Regions from separate parts of the Homo sapiens genome. Here all the other regions are linked to region 2. The links are contacts of gene promoters, found by promoter capture Hi-C in blood cells and fetal thymus (Javierre and others, 2016). All regions are on one chromosome and are shown on one strand. Each heading gives the region's core, a stretch centred on a gene start or on the middle of the fragment in contact. The rest is flanking DNA. Distances are from core to core; before and after follow the strand shown.

Region 1 (3,449 bases), core at 887-3,386, 290 kb after region 2:
ATGTTTCTTCAGAAAAAGGCTTTGTTATCTCAGTTAAATTATTCACTGTGTAAACTAGGAGTACCTGTTTTGTGTCTAGCCAGGGATAAGGAGTATTCGCTGTTACTTTTTATTCTGAGATACAAGTCTGTCTAGAAATTTGTTTAAGTTTCTACCTAAATAGTTCACTCAACATTTCCCAATACAGGGAGGTAATACAGAAATACAGGCTTACAAAAATTGTTCTTTTATTTTCTTTGAAGGTTACTTTTTACCTGATCTGATCAGAAACTTTGCAATAATTGCTTGCTAGAAAGCATTTTTCTTTTGTTCAGAAATAATGGTTTATTCAATTATAGGTTTCATTGCTAATTAGCCCCCCAAAATACATCTTTTGACATTAATGTGAGAGTCTAGTTTTCTTAGTGCAGTAACTAAACTAGTGGAAAAAATATTTTATGTTTTTCTTCCATTTGAATGAAGAATGAAAGCCTGCTTAAAACTGAAGTTCTCTGTTAGACTCCTTTTTTAAAAGTAAAAGTGGTTAATCATCAACTTCTGCAATACCAAAGATTATTCAGAAGTAAATAATGGTCCTGCTAATTTAGAACTAAATTTAAAAAATAATGCCAACTCTCTGCTGTCTCGTCAGCATATTAATTAAAGTATACTTTCCAAGCTTAATAAGGACTGGTGCTATAACATCATTAATAAGCTGACACATAGGGGTGAATATTACAGCAACCCAGTAGTCCTTCTTCCTTCTTCTTCTCCTCCTGCTCCTGCTCCTCCTCCTCCTCCTCCTCTTCTTTTCTTTCTTCTTTCCTCCTTTTCCTCCTTCTTGGTTTTTTCTCCTTCTTCTCCTCCTCCTCCTCCTCTTACTCCATCTTCTCCTCCTCTTTCTCCTCCTCCTTCTCTCCCTTCTTCTCCCCCTTCTCCTCCTCCTGTTTCTTCCTTTTACTTTCTTCTTTCTTCCTCCTTCTGCCTTCTTTCTTTTTCCTTCTTATTCTTCTTTCTTCCTTCTTTCTTCTTCCTTCTTTTTTCTTCTTCGTCCTTCTTCCTTCTTTCTTCTTACTCGTTTTTTTCTTCGTCCTCCCTCCTCCTACTTCCTTCTTCTTTCTTCTTCTTCCTTCTTTCTCCTTCTTCCTTCCCTTTTTCCTCCCTCCTTCTCCTTTTTCTTCCTCTTCCTGCTCCCTCCTCTTCCTCCTTCCTCCTCCCCCTCTTCTTTTTCTTCTTCTTCCTCTTCCTTTTCTTCCTCCTCCTCCTTCCTTCTTCTTTTTCCTCTTCCTTCCTTCTTCTTTCTTCCTCCTCCTACTCCTTTTTTTTTTTTTTTTTTTGAGACAGTTTCACTCATGTTGCCCAGGCTGGAGTGCAATGGTGCAATCTCAGTTTACTGCAACCTCCGCCTTCGAGGTTCCAGCGATTCTTCTGCCCTGGCCTCCCAAGTAGCTGGGATTACAGGCATGTGCCACCATGCCCTGCTAATTTTACGTTTTTAGTAGAGACGGGGTTTCTCCATGTCGGTCAGGCTGGTCTTGAACTCCCAACGTCAGGTGATCTGGCTGCCTCGGCCTCCCAAAGTGCTGGGATTACAGGCGTGAGCCACCGTACCTGGCCCTTCTTCTTTTTTTTTTGAGATGGAGTTTCGCTCTGTCGTCCAGGCTGAAGTGCAGTAGCGTGACACGGGGTTTCACCATGTTGGCCAGGCTGGTCTCTCGAACTCCTGGCCTCAGGTGATCCATCCCCCTCGGCCTTCCAAAGTGCTGGGATTACAGGCATGAGCCACTGCGCCCGGCCCTTTTTTGTTTGTTTTTCTTTTTAATAATGCCATGGTTCTATATTCTACAGCCTTGAAAAAACCCTTATAGAAGATATTCCTTATAATACTCTTGAGTTCTAAATAGTTTGACTATGACTTACAGTGTTTAAACACCATTACTTCCCATCTTTTTTCTTAAAACCTACCTATGGATTTCAAGAAACATTGCCTCAGGCCACTGGACAAAGTGTTGTATTTCATGCCCCTGCCCTACCTATACCACATAAAAATACCATTTTGAAGATGGCTACTTCTAAATGAATGAGGCTTGTTAAAATATTAAAGAAGTATTTAATGATGAATTTTAAAGGGAAAATATGTGGATCTGTTGATTAGGAGGTTTTATTTCTGGATTAAGAAACGGCTATATTTCCGTCAGAAAAGAAAAAAATTTAAAAGGCTATATTGCCTTTGTGCTATAAATTTGTGATTTTAATAACAGTTATTTTGCATATTTAAGTAAGTAGACATTTCAAGAAATTGGTTTGTCTTTAATGTTCTTTATGAAGTGTTTTCTGTTGATACTGTGTCATTTGTTTCTAGGTTGCTGCTAACACTCCAAGTATGTACTCTCAGGAACTATTCCAGCTTTCTCAGTATCTACAGGTAAAAGTACATCTTGAGACTTCTTAAAAGCAGAATTTCTTTTAAACTTTTAAAAGTTCTTAAAAGCAGAATTAGGGCCAGGCATGGTGGCTAATGCCTGTAATCCCAGGACTTTGGGAGGCCTAGGCAGAAGGATTCTTTGAGGCCAAGAGTTTGAGACCAACCTGGGCAATAAAGTGAGACCCCTTTAATTTAAAAAAATTTTTTTAATTAACCAGGTGTGATGGCGTGCATCTGTAGTCCCAGCTACTTGGGAGGTGGAGGTGAGAGGATTACTTGAGCCCAGGGGGTCGAGGCTGCAGTGAACTTTGATGGCACCACTGCACTCCATCCTAGGCAACAGAGCAAGACCCTGTCTGAAGAAAAGAAGGGCAGAATTAAACAACTTATATTTTATTTTGCAAATTCACAAATATAGGATAAAAAAATGGCTGGATGCAAATAGAAAAGAAATACTGTCTTTTCAAAAAAGAACAAAGGATTAAAAGTAGATCTTATGAAGAAAGATAAAAGAGTCAACATTAAATCTAGAGAAAAGCCTTTGTACAAGAGGAATTTTTTTGTTCAAGTATGAGGAGGTTCCAAAACAGTTTTTAAAAATCTGTTTTCAAATTTTTTTGGAGACAGGGTCTCGCTCTGTCTCTCAGGCTGAAGTGCAGTGGCATGATCAGAACTCACTACAGCCTCGAACTCCTGGGCTCAAGTCTTTTTCCTGCCTCAACCTCCCAAAGTGCTGGGATTATAGGTGTGAGCCGCCATGCCGAGCCCCAAAACAATTCTTTATCCATAGATGACTTTTGTTTTGTTTTATTTTATTTTATTCTGTTTTATTTTTGAGATGGAGTCTCACTCTGTAGCCCAAGCTGGAGTGCAGTGGTACAATCTCAGCTCACTACAACCTCTGCCTCCTGGGCCCAAGCGATTCTCCTGCCTCAGCCTCCTGAGTGGCTGGGACTACAGGCATCCACCACCCACAGCTGGCTAATTTTTTGTATTTTAGTAGAGACAGGGTTTTACCATGTTGCCCAGGGTGGTCTCAAACTCC
Region 2 (3,591 bases), core at 995-3,494:
TAGTAGAGATAATGAAACCCCGTCTAATTTTTGTATTTTTAGTAGAGACGGCGTTTTAACATATTTAGTAGAGACAGTGAAATTCCATCTCTACTAAAAATACAAAAATTAGCCAGACATGGCAGTGCACACCTGTAATCTCAGCTACTTGGGAGGCTGAGGCATGAGAATCGCTTGAACCCGGGAGGTGGAGGCTGCAGTGAGCCGAGATCACACCACTGCACTCCAGCCTGGGTGACAGAGTGAGGCTCCATCTCAAAAATAAAAAAATAAAAAAATAATTACATGGAGGCCAATGACAATTACAGTATCAAACACCTTTTTTCTTGCAATTAAAACCAAATGTTTTTAGCTTTTCCCCTTTCAAGAAAATGAAAATTAAAGCTTTTCCATAATTGCAAGCAAAACAACTCTAATGGCCCTCTTAGAAGAAATCCAGAACTTCATACTATGGCTTAGAATGCACTACACAATTTGGTGGATGCATATCTTTCTTATCTGCTACTCTCCCCTGGTCTCACCTTACTCATCACACTGGACCTCTTTCTGGTCTACAGGTAAAGCAATTCATTCGTTCTTCAAGACCTTTTTTTGTTTTGTTTTGAGACGGAGTTTCACTCTTGTTGCCCAGGCTGGAGTGCAATGGCATGATCTCAACTCACTATGACCTCCATCTCCCAGGTTCAAGCGATTCTCCTGCCTCAGCCTCCCTAGTAGCTGGGATTACAGGTGTGCGCCACCATGCCCAGCTAATTTTTTGTATTTTTAGTAGAGACGGGGTTTCACTATGTTGGCCAGGCTGGTCTCGAACTCCTGACCTTAGGCGATCCACCCGCCTCAGCCTCCCAAAGTGCTGGGATTACAGACGTGAGCCACTGGGCCCGGCGTCTTTAAGACCTTTAAAAGAAATAGCAATAAAGTGCACGATTCCTTAGGCCAGGGGAGGTGGTTTTCACTTGTTATCCCAGAATTTTGGGAGGGTAAGGCGGGGGGCTTGCTTGAGGCCAGGAGTTCGCGACCAGCCCAGGAAACATGGTGAAGCCCTTCTCTACTAAAATACAAAAATTAGCTGGGCGTGGTGGTGTGTGCCTGTAGTCCCAGCTACTTGGGAGGCTGAGGCACGAGAATCGCTTGAACTCTGGAAGCCGAAGTTGCAGTAAGCCAAGATCGCACAGCTGCACTCCAGCTTGGGTGAAAGAGCAAGGCCCTACCTAAAAAATAAAAAAATAAAATAAACAGATAAACAACTATTTCTTAATATATGCCCCATTATTATTCCTTATCTGAAATTGAATTTAACTGAGATCCTGTAATTTTATTTGTTAAATGTAGTAACTAAATAGAGTCTTCCTATTTACTAACTAAAAATAAACACTGGGTGGCTCTTGCCTGTTTGTACTTGAGAGGGTTAGGCGGGAGGATCGCACGAGCCCTGGAGTTCGAGGGGGCAGTGAGCTATGATCAGGCCACTGCACTCCAGCTTGGGCGTCAAAGTGACAACCTGTCTCTAATAAAAAATAACAAACAGCCTTCCGCAGTTTGTCAGTACTATTTCTTTCTGCCAATTAATAGTTGTGTGACCCTGAGCAGGTAATATCTCGGGACTCTGCATCTGTAAAGCGATGGATAAAGAGACCTACCTCATAAGAACTATGAGGCTTAAATAAGATAGTGTGTGTAGCGTTTCTCGCATAGTCTGCGCTCACTAAACGGAGTTATTGTATATCGTTCGTTGTTAACTACCACAAAGGCTCTGCTCAGAGGTGCGTAGGCGCTGGCTCAGCCTGGGGTGAACCCACCAGGCCACCGAAACGAGCGATCAGGGTCGGCAAAGCTGTGGAGATGAAATGGGCAACACCTTCCACACTGCGAGTAAAGCTCGCAATCCGGGTGGAGGCCTCCACGTCCTAGCGCAGTCCAGTCCCGGGCGCAGGGAGGAGAGCTGGTCAGCCAAGATTCCAAGACAGGTGTCCACCTCCTCCAACGAAGCGGAACACGTGACACCACCCTATCCACTTCCGGCTTGGAGGGCATGCCCTCCCGTCACCAGCATGCACTTTCGACAAAACCGTGGAATCTAGTATTTTCCTCTGACACCTTTATATTTTCTTCACTTCCCTATAATTCTGACCTATCGTGTAGGTAAAAATTAATCTTCAGAGTATTACAGACATGCGTGCCCACGCGCTAGGCGAAAGTGCGAGTCGGAAGCACTTCATTCCCTCTCTTCGCTAGCCGGAAGTCGCGAGATCTGAATGAGTCAAAGCCGGCGGCCTCGGCTCCTCAGCTCCACCTGACAGTAGGCCGCTGATCGGCCGCGGGTCTTGTCGACCGCTAGGCCACCAGGTTCATGTGGAGGCTCCCAGGCGCCCGCGCCGCGCTTCGGGTGATCCGGACGGCGGTGGAGAAGCTGAGCCGGGCTGAAGCGGGGAGCCAGACAGCGGCGGGAGCGATGGAGCGCGCTGTAGTGCGCTGCGTACCTTCGGAACCCAAGCTGAGCCTGTCATTCGCTTTGGCTGATGGTAGCCACAAGAACATGCAGCGCGACCAGAGCGAGCCGCTGGGTCGAGTCCTCAGCCGCATCGCTACCAATGCCCTAAAGGGTCACGCTAAGGCGGCCGCCGCCAAGAAGAGCAGGAAGAGCCGGCCGAATGCTAGCGGCGGTGCGGCCTGTTCAGGGCCGGGGCCTGAGCCGGCTGTGTTCTGCGAGCCCGTGGTGAAGCTGTACTACCGGGAAGAGGCAGTGGCTGAGGACGTGCTCAACGTGGATGCCTGGCAAGACGGCGCGGTGCTGCAGATCGGCGATGTTAAGTACAAGGTGGAGCGCAACCCGCCCGCCTTCACCGAACTGCAGTTGCCGCGCTACATCATGGCCGGGTTCCCTGTGTGCCCCAAACTCAGCCTCGAATTTGGGGATCCCGCCAGCTCCCTTTTCCGCTGGTATAAGGAAGCCAAGCCCGGAGCGGCGGAGCCCGAGGTCGGTGTCCCCTCGTCATTGTCTCCCTCCTCACCTTCTTCTTCTTGGACTGAGACTGATGTGGAGGAGCGTGTCTACACCCCGTCCAATGCCGACATCGGGCTAAGGCTCAAGCTTCACTGCACCCCAGGCGATGGGCAGCGCTTTGGGCACAGCCGGGAGTTGGAAAGTGTGTGTGTGGTAGAGGCTGGGCCTGGCACCTGCACTTTTGACCACCGGCATCTCTACACGAAGAAGGTGACTGAGGACGCTCTCATCCGCACTGTCTCTTACAACATCCTGGCAGACACGTACGCGCAGACTGAGTTCTCGCGAACGGTTCTGTACCCATACTGTGCCCCCTACGCCCTGGAGCTCGACTACCGCCAGAACCTTATCCAGAAGGAACTCACCGGCTACAACGCCGATGTCATCTGTTTGCAGGAGGTTGACCGCGCAGTGTTTTCTGACAGCTTGGTACCCGCCCTAGAGGCCTTCGGGCTCGAGGGGGTGTTTCGAATCAAGCAGCACGAAGGCCTGGCCACTTTCTACCGAAAGTCTAAGTTCAGCCTTCTTAGCCAGCATGACATTTCATTCTACGAAGCCCTCGAGTCCGACCCACTTCACAAAGAACT
Region 3 (3,550 bases), core at 761-3,260, 280 kb after region 2:
TGCAACCTCTGCCTCCCGGGTTCAGGTGATTCTCCTGCCTCAGCCTCCCAAGTAGCTGGGATTACAGGCACGTGCCACCACACCACCATACACCACCATGTTGGCGAGGCTGGTCTCGAACCTCTGACCTCAAGTGATCTGCCCGCCTCAGCCTCCCAAAGTTCTGGGATTACAGGCGTGAGCCACCACACCTGGCCTAAAATAGTAATATCTTTATCATAGCTTTAATGTTAAATGAGGGCCTGATGGCAAAAGTATATTTTGATATATAGTGTATTAGGTGTCTTTTTACCTTTCTTCCTTAGGAAGAAATTCAGCGAAAATGTGTTACTAAAATAAGTAGGGCTGAAGAGTGTAGAAAAATCGAAAAAGAAAGGTACGTCTTTTTTTACTGGTGGTTCTCTTCCTAGTAAGTCTATTGTGTGTGATCCCAGTTGTGCTGAAATTTTTAAGGATTTGTAAGTGATAAATAGGTAGGCTTCTTGTGCCTCCTGCTATCCTTTCTGTTTTTAAAGAGGGAGGGTTACCCAAGTGATGAGAAGCAAATTTGGACAACCATCACCACTAATTTTAGAATATTTTCATCATCTCAAAAAGAAACCTTGTACCCATCCCATTCCTACCTGCCACTTCAGCCTTTTGTAAGCACTCATGTACTTTTTGTCTGTATAGCTTTGCCTATTCTGGATGTTTCATATAAAATGAATCATTATAATACATCAGTCTTTTGTGACTGACTTCTTTTACTTCACATAATGTTTTAAACGTTCATTCATGTTATAGCATGTTATCAATACTTCACCCCTTTATTGCCAAATAATATTCAGTTATATGAATGTCTACCACATTTGTTTATTCATTTATCAGTTGATGGATAGTTGGATTATTTTCCCTTTTTGGCTATTATGAATAATGCCAACATTTGTGTAGAAGTTTTTATGAGAACATGTTTTTAGTTCTCTTGGATGTATACCTAGGAGTGGAATTGCTGAGTTGTATACTAACTTTATGTTTAACATTTTGAGGACCTGACAAACTCTTTTTCCAAAGAGGTTGTACCGTTTTATGTAGCTGAATTTTAAATCACCTAGTTTTCAGATTCTAATTTCATATATATTAAAGGAGAACCTTAGCTGAAATGAGTGGTTTGAATTAATAGGGGAAAAATTCACTTGCAATAGTTGGCAAAGCTGGAAGCATTTTTTTAAAAAGTACATTTGGAATTATTACTATTAATATTTGGCCCTTTTTTGTTTTTGTTTTTTTTTGCAGTTTTATCTTCAAGACACTAAAAGTAGTAATGGTACTTTTATAAATAGCCAGAGATTGAGTCGAGGCTCTGAAGAAAGTCCACCATGTGAAATTCTTTCCGGTGACATTATCCAGTTTGGAGTAGACGTGACAGAGAATACACGGAAAGGTACGGGTATGGATCACTTTTTTTATTACTTGTCTTTTAAAGGTTATTTAATTTTTTATTATCTTACTTGACATTATGAAACATTACATGCTTGTGAAAGCGATTTAAATACAGCATTATATACAGTGAAAAGTTAAAAGTCTCATACTTTCCGTATTGCTCTTCTAAAATTTTAAATTCTGAAGTGTTATTTAGTAGTTTATATTCTTCATCACAGTCAGGGACCAGTCAGCTGCAATGACAGCATACCCCACCAAGACAAGCTTAAATCACAGGATATTTATTATTGATGATGAGACTTAATGAGAGATCTGGAGGCAGATAGGTTCATTTGTTCAGTTGACTCAATGAGATCATCAGGGATCCAGGGTCTTACTGTCTTCCTGTTCTACTGTCTTAAACATTTTAGTTTCTCATGCTTTTGGTTGTTGCTTCATGGTCATAAGATGATGGCTGCAAGCCCCAGGCATCATTTTCCTCACACCAGTATCCTAGGCAAAAAGGATGAGGCGGGGATAAAATGCCTTCTTGTGTGGCTCTCTTCTTATGTTGAAAGAACAATCTTTTGCAGAATCCTCCCAGCAGATTTCTCCTTAGGTCTCACTGGCCACATGGGTAGATCGCATACATAGTTACCTGCAGCTACAAAGAAGTCTGGTGAAGTTACTTAATCTCGTGAAAGGGAGCAAGAAGATCTATGATTGACATAGATCAGTTTTGATTTATTCCTTCAGGTTGTGTGTACATTGTTACCCCAAACAAAATTAGAGCTCTCTTAGCAAGAAAGAAGATGGAAAGGTAGTAGAGGTAGGCAGCTAATAGTAGCTATCACAAGTATAAAATAAAATTTAATGTCTCACAATTTTTGAAAGTTCTTTAGCTAAATAAATGTAGATTGATCTTTGTTTTTACAATTCAGAAGCTTCCTGCCTCTACCTAGTTCACGGTCTTCTTTATGACCATGAAATTATATAGCTAAATCATAAAACTAAATGGATAAAAACCATAAGTGTTTAGTTCCACTTCATTAGTTTAATATGGATAGTGCAACCATTTGGCAAGTTTCTCCTTTCATTTGTCTGAACATACTCTGATCTGGTGATACTGGTCAGAATTTTGCATAGTAGAGATGGTGATGGTGGTGATGATGATAATGCTGATGATGCTGGTGTGTGTGTGTTCATATGCATATTTATGCATATACTTTCACTGGTATTGCAACAGCAGTATTATTTTTAATGGGTTTTTTTGGCCTCCTCAGAAAGTTAGGTTTTGATATTTGAATTTGGGCAGGGCCAACATCTTAGGAATTTCCATTTACAATTGTAAACCAAAAAAGAAAGGTTTGTATTTTGGTAAAGAATATTGACACTTCTTACTAAGAGAATTCAACTTATATATGACCATACTGGGAACAGCTGCATTAGACACTCCTATATCTGCTGTTGCCATATCACACCTACAAGTCATTCAGCAAACAGTAAACCGAGCTCATTAAATGGAACCCCAACTGTGAGTAACCCATAGAGAAAAAGAGAATTTGATTACATTGTCTTTCTCTCCAAGGAATGTCTGTCTTCTTGGCTTGCATTTCCTAAAGGGAATTATTAGGTGTTGATTGACAAAAAGGATGAGGTAATGAAATACATTTAGAGAATACTTAGGTAAGATAAGCAGGACTTCTTGGAGCTTTTAATATGCTAACATATATGCAGATTTCCAAGGAGGTGGCCATTATAGAATGCAACTCTTTCCAAACTCCTTTCCACTGTTTTTTCCCATCTATCTGTGAGGGTCTATCTGTGAGGGATACTCTTTAGAAAATGCTATAGAAAGCTAAGAAGATGACCCTGAGATTCAAGGTTCCTCTTAGTATAATCTTATTTTAGTAACATTAGTTTTTTTTTTTTGAGACGGAGTCTCACTCTGTTGCCAGGCTGGAGTGCAGTGGCACCATCTCCAGTCACTGCAACCTGTCTCCCGGGCTCAAGTGATTCTCCTGCCTCAGCCTCTCGAGTAGCTGGGACTACAGGTGCATGCCACCATGCCCAGCTAATTTTTGTATTTCTAGTAGAGACGGGGTTTCACCATGTTGGCCAGGATGGTCTCGTTCTCTTGACCTCGTGATCT
Region 4 (3,619 bases), core at 351-2,850, 290 kb before region 2:
AAAGAACTCAATAAACAAAAACAGATTGAAAAGGTATACAGTCCTAATGTCTGGATCTTTATGTGTTGTTTGTGAAGACTTAATTCAGCACTATGACTTTCAGATTTGAATTTCCAAATGAAGGGCTGTTTCTGCTTGTTCAGCCACTTCATAAACAGATGATTCATACCATAGCAGAAAAGGGTCACATCTGTTTTTTGATATGATGTTTACATTATAGTTACGTTGACATGTAATATGACTGTTTCAAAAATATACCAGAACTTTAATATTTCAGAGGAGGTTGTCTCTGTCAAAGCAGTTGAGAGGCTGTGTAGACTTAACTGCCATTGCTGAAAGCCATTTTGCCTTCTATGGGGGGGAAATAAATAAATATATATGTTATATGAAATATATAATGAAATGTATATTTTTAATATTGCCAGGAGTGTCAAATCATTGTCCATCCAACAGAATAATTTTAAAAGACAAATTTCAGAGCAAAACTTGAAGAATGCATTAAATGATCCATGAAATTGTAAGAGCGTGTTATGGGTTGTAGATTGACAGTAGGAATAGAAAAGAGGAGACAGCTGGGATGCTTAGAACAGATCAATAAGCATTGGCTGTGGGCTGGCTCTCTGGACAAAGAAGAGGGAAGTGGCAAAGATGACATTGAAGTGAGGCTTTCTTGATAGGCGAGGCTGAGGGAAGGTGACACCTGATTTAGCAAAGATGAATTGGACAGGGATGGAGAAAAGGGCTGGAGAGGGGAAGGGAAAGGAGTGTGGGGGTGATCCCTTTCGAGGGTTTTACTATAATATATAGTGAGAGATGATTGATGATGGGCTTTATTTGGTTGTTGGTCATAAAAAAAGAAAGATAAAATATTAGATTTTAGTTTGAATGCTGGCTTTTATAGGATGGTGCCAAAATTCATTTTGGTGTTGTATTGTTTGGGTGTAGCTTTTCTTTTTATCAAGTTGTCAGAAGTATGCATACATATTTATGACAGAAGAAGTGGCTCTCAAGAATGTATCTTAACTGCATAATTTGCCATTTGACTGCAGACAAGTAACTTAGTTTCTTTTTTGTCTTTTCCACTAGGACTTGGAAGAACAAAGTCGGTTGATAGCTGCTTCCAGTAGACCAAACCAAGCCAGTAGTGAGGGGCAGTTTGTTGTCCTTAGCAGTAGCCAGTCAGAAGAGAGTGATTTGGGAGAAGGAGGAAAGAAGAGAGAATCAGAAGCATAAGCTTATACTTTTGGTAGATATTCCCCCTTGGAATTTGACAGTTTCTATGGTGAAATGGCAGAAGGTAACAACTATGTTGAAATATCAAGGAGGAGATTAAGCTTTATATTTGCTTATTTGTTGTAGCTACATTTTAAAAAAAAGATTGAACTTGATGACTTAGGTTTGCATTGATCTTTTTTCCCCCTTAAACATAATGTACTATGTATTAACATCTAAAGGAAACCTGCTCATCTCCCTGAAGCAGACTGCTGAGGAATTACATTTGCTCAAGAATTTTTTCCGTCAAATTGTGAACTTTTAATTCTTGCATTGTAATTGGCTGTGTCCATAAGAAATCATTTATTCTTCAGGCTTAGACATTCATGGATATGCTTTTCTTTCATTAGGAACATTTTGCTGGTGATGAGGAAGCATTTAGCTGAATAAGTTTAAAGCCCTTTATACAGAGAATTCTACAAGTTTGCAAATATTTTAACAATATTAAATGTGCAATAGAACTTTTATAAAATAATTAGAACAGAGATTTTACAGTTAAGGTTTCAAATTGTGGCAGGTGGTACTGTTGATCTCAGGGTACTTTCTGGGATTGCTCACATTTCTCTAATGTACTGCACTTGATGCCAGTAGGAAAGAAGCTTAAGTGTCTTCAGTTCAAGATTGATAGAGCCCTTGGCATTTTATTATCACATTCTTAGTTCTCAGGTTGGGACTTCAATTACTGCTGCAGAGCAGTAGTGGTTAAAAATAAGATATTGGAATTTATTAAAAGATTTTTGTTCAATACATTTTAGATTAGGATTGACAAGTAAAGATACTGCTATGGAATGATACATTGTATTTTCTGCATTGTGTGAAATAGTTTTTATTGAAAGTCAAGTGACATTTCAAAAGAAGTTCTATAACAATTATGTTTCATGCTTAAAGTAAAAATTCCCAGAGTTTAGTTTAGAAAATGTAATCTTTTAAATTTCAGACTGATATATTCCCAGTATTTTCATAATGCCATGTTTTGATAAAGTACTGAATCACCACTTTATATCCACAAAGGCAAATAACTAATGTATGATAATAGAATAATTTGCACTAATTATTGTAAATATGTCTACTCTTCAAATGAGTAAAAGGTCCAATTTTGTGAAAGATTGAAAATGAATTGAATGCCTAGTAGAGTATAGGAGAAGTTGACCAAGGAAGGATTTAACCTGGTGCCAAGGTTAAAATAACATTTCTCTACTGCCTATTGTTTATGTTAAACCTTAATTTTTTTTCTGTAATCACTTTTAACACTGCTAATAGAAATTATGTTTTCATGTGTTTCACATGAAAAAGTATATATATACAAAGTTAATATAGTGGGTAAAATACTTTACATAGTCACACATTTACAAATTTTTCAAGAGGTTAGCCACTAAGACTTTAATAATTTTACAAGGGAAAAAGCCTTTTTTTTTCTTTGATATACAGTTTTTTCTTCTTAGTTCTGCATTAGAAATGGCATCTGTTTTAGGTCTCAAAATATAACTCAGCTGTTTCACACTGTATATGTACATTGTTTTCTGTAGGAATAGGATAATGATATATAGGATCATGATATTCCTTCTATCCATGTGCCAAATGGGTGTAATGTTTATTTACTGATGCTTTATGTTACCAAAACATACAGTAAAAAAGTAGAAATTTATGAAATACTTTTGATAAAAAGTTTATTTTGTGCTTACCAAAAGGAATGCTTTCACAATAGTGTATCAGTTCTTTTGTTTTGTTAAAGTTGGAATTTATTCTGTTGCCAGCATTTAAGTAGTCATGGCAAGTCCTGTTTTTAAGACCTTTTGGAGACTGGAGCTTTCTGTTCCATTAAGTCTTTTGTTTATACTACAAATTGTCACCTCACTTAGTTCAGATGAAATCTGTTACTCTACAAGGAAGGTGTTCATCATTAGGAGGCAGCTTTACTAAGCTGGTGCTTTGCATGGTAGCAAGTGCTGCCCTTTATCAGCACCCTGGGTCATAGTGTAGGCTAGAGTTAAGGCACTGGCAGACTTAGGGATGCTGGACAGACCTGTAGTTCGTTTTAAGTCATGTTCACAGGAATTTCTACAATAATAAACCCATCATCTCCATAGGTCAGATCGAAGTGCATTCCAATGCTAAATAGAAGTTATGAGTGGGTTTAACAATTTTAGATGATTCAGCTTTTGTTCCATTACTGTTGAACTATATGAACTATTCCATTACTGCAGAGATTTAAGTATCTGTTTTAATAAGCTCTTTTTGTTATTTAAAGGCTGCCCATGGGTTTCTGCCTAGTGGTAAAGCTGATTGTTACCCTCCTTTGAAATCCCTTCTAGTTCTGAGATGCTTTGAGGGTAACTGGATTCGATTT

The links. Contacts are between HindIII fragments. The CHiCAGO score rates a contact against its expected background, and 5 or more counts as called.
Region 1: a fragment that was not itself captured here is called in contact with the fragment with the promoter of PDE12 in region 2 in 1 of 17 cell types (endothelial precursors); the score reaches 5.6 in endothelial precursors.
Region 3: a fragment that was not itself captured here is called in contact with the fragment with the promoter of PDE12 in region 2 in 2 of 17 cell types (endothelial precursors and megakaryocytes); the score reaches 7.3 in endothelial precursors.
Region 4: a fragment that was not itself captured here is called in contact with the fragment with the promoter of PDE12 in region 2 in 2 of 17 cell types (M1 macrophages and endothelial precursors); the score reaches 5.8 in M1 macrophages.

The regions. Positions count from the first base shown.
Region 1 is chr3:57,847,413-57,850,861 of GRCh38, forward strand. SLMAP (sarcolemma associated protein) reads left to right here. Exons shown (of 25, transcript NM_001377540.1): 6 at 2,342-2,404. Among named protein-coding and RNA genes, the nearest start is that of SLMAP, 93 kb to the left of the region's middle. The HindIII fragment of the contact is 2,960 bases long and covers 657-3,449 here.
Region 2 is chr3:57,554,030-57,557,620 of GRCh38, forward strand. It overlaps PDE12 (phosphodiesterase 12), which reads left to right and starts at 2,245. Exons shown (of 3, transcript NM_177966.7): 1 at 2,245-3,591. The coding sequence starts at 2,351. It also overlaps a transcript of DNAH12 not described here. RefSeq lists enhancers at 1,739-2,518, 3,009-3,178. The HindIII fragment of the contact is 2,707 bases long and covers 383-3,089 here.
Region 3 is chr3:57,830,111-57,833,660 of GRCh38, forward strand. SLMAP (sarcolemma associated protein) reads left to right here. Exons shown (of 25, transcript NM_001377540.1): 3 at 1,273-1,420. Among named protein-coding and RNA genes, the nearest start is that of SLMAP, 76 kb to the left of the region's middle. RefSeq lists an enhancer at 1,586-2,087. The HindIII fragment of the contact is 659 bases long and covers 1,682-2,340 here.
Region 4 is chr3:57,268,455-57,272,073 of GRCh38, forward strand. It overlaps APPL1 (adaptor protein, phosphotyrosine interacting with PH domain and leucine zipper 1), which reads left to right. Exons shown (of 22, transcript NM_012096.3): 21 at 1-33; 22 at 1,087-3,619. The coding sequence ends at 1,233. It overlaps ASB14 (ankyrin repeat and SOCS box containing 14), which reads right to left. Exons shown (of 11, transcript NM_001142733.3): 11 at 1-1,164. It overlaps LOC105377102 (a long non-coding RNA gene), which reads left to right and starts at 1,112. Exons shown (of 3, transcript NR_135535.1): 1 at 1,112-1,297. The HindIII fragment of the contact is 537 bases long and covers 1,333-1,869 here.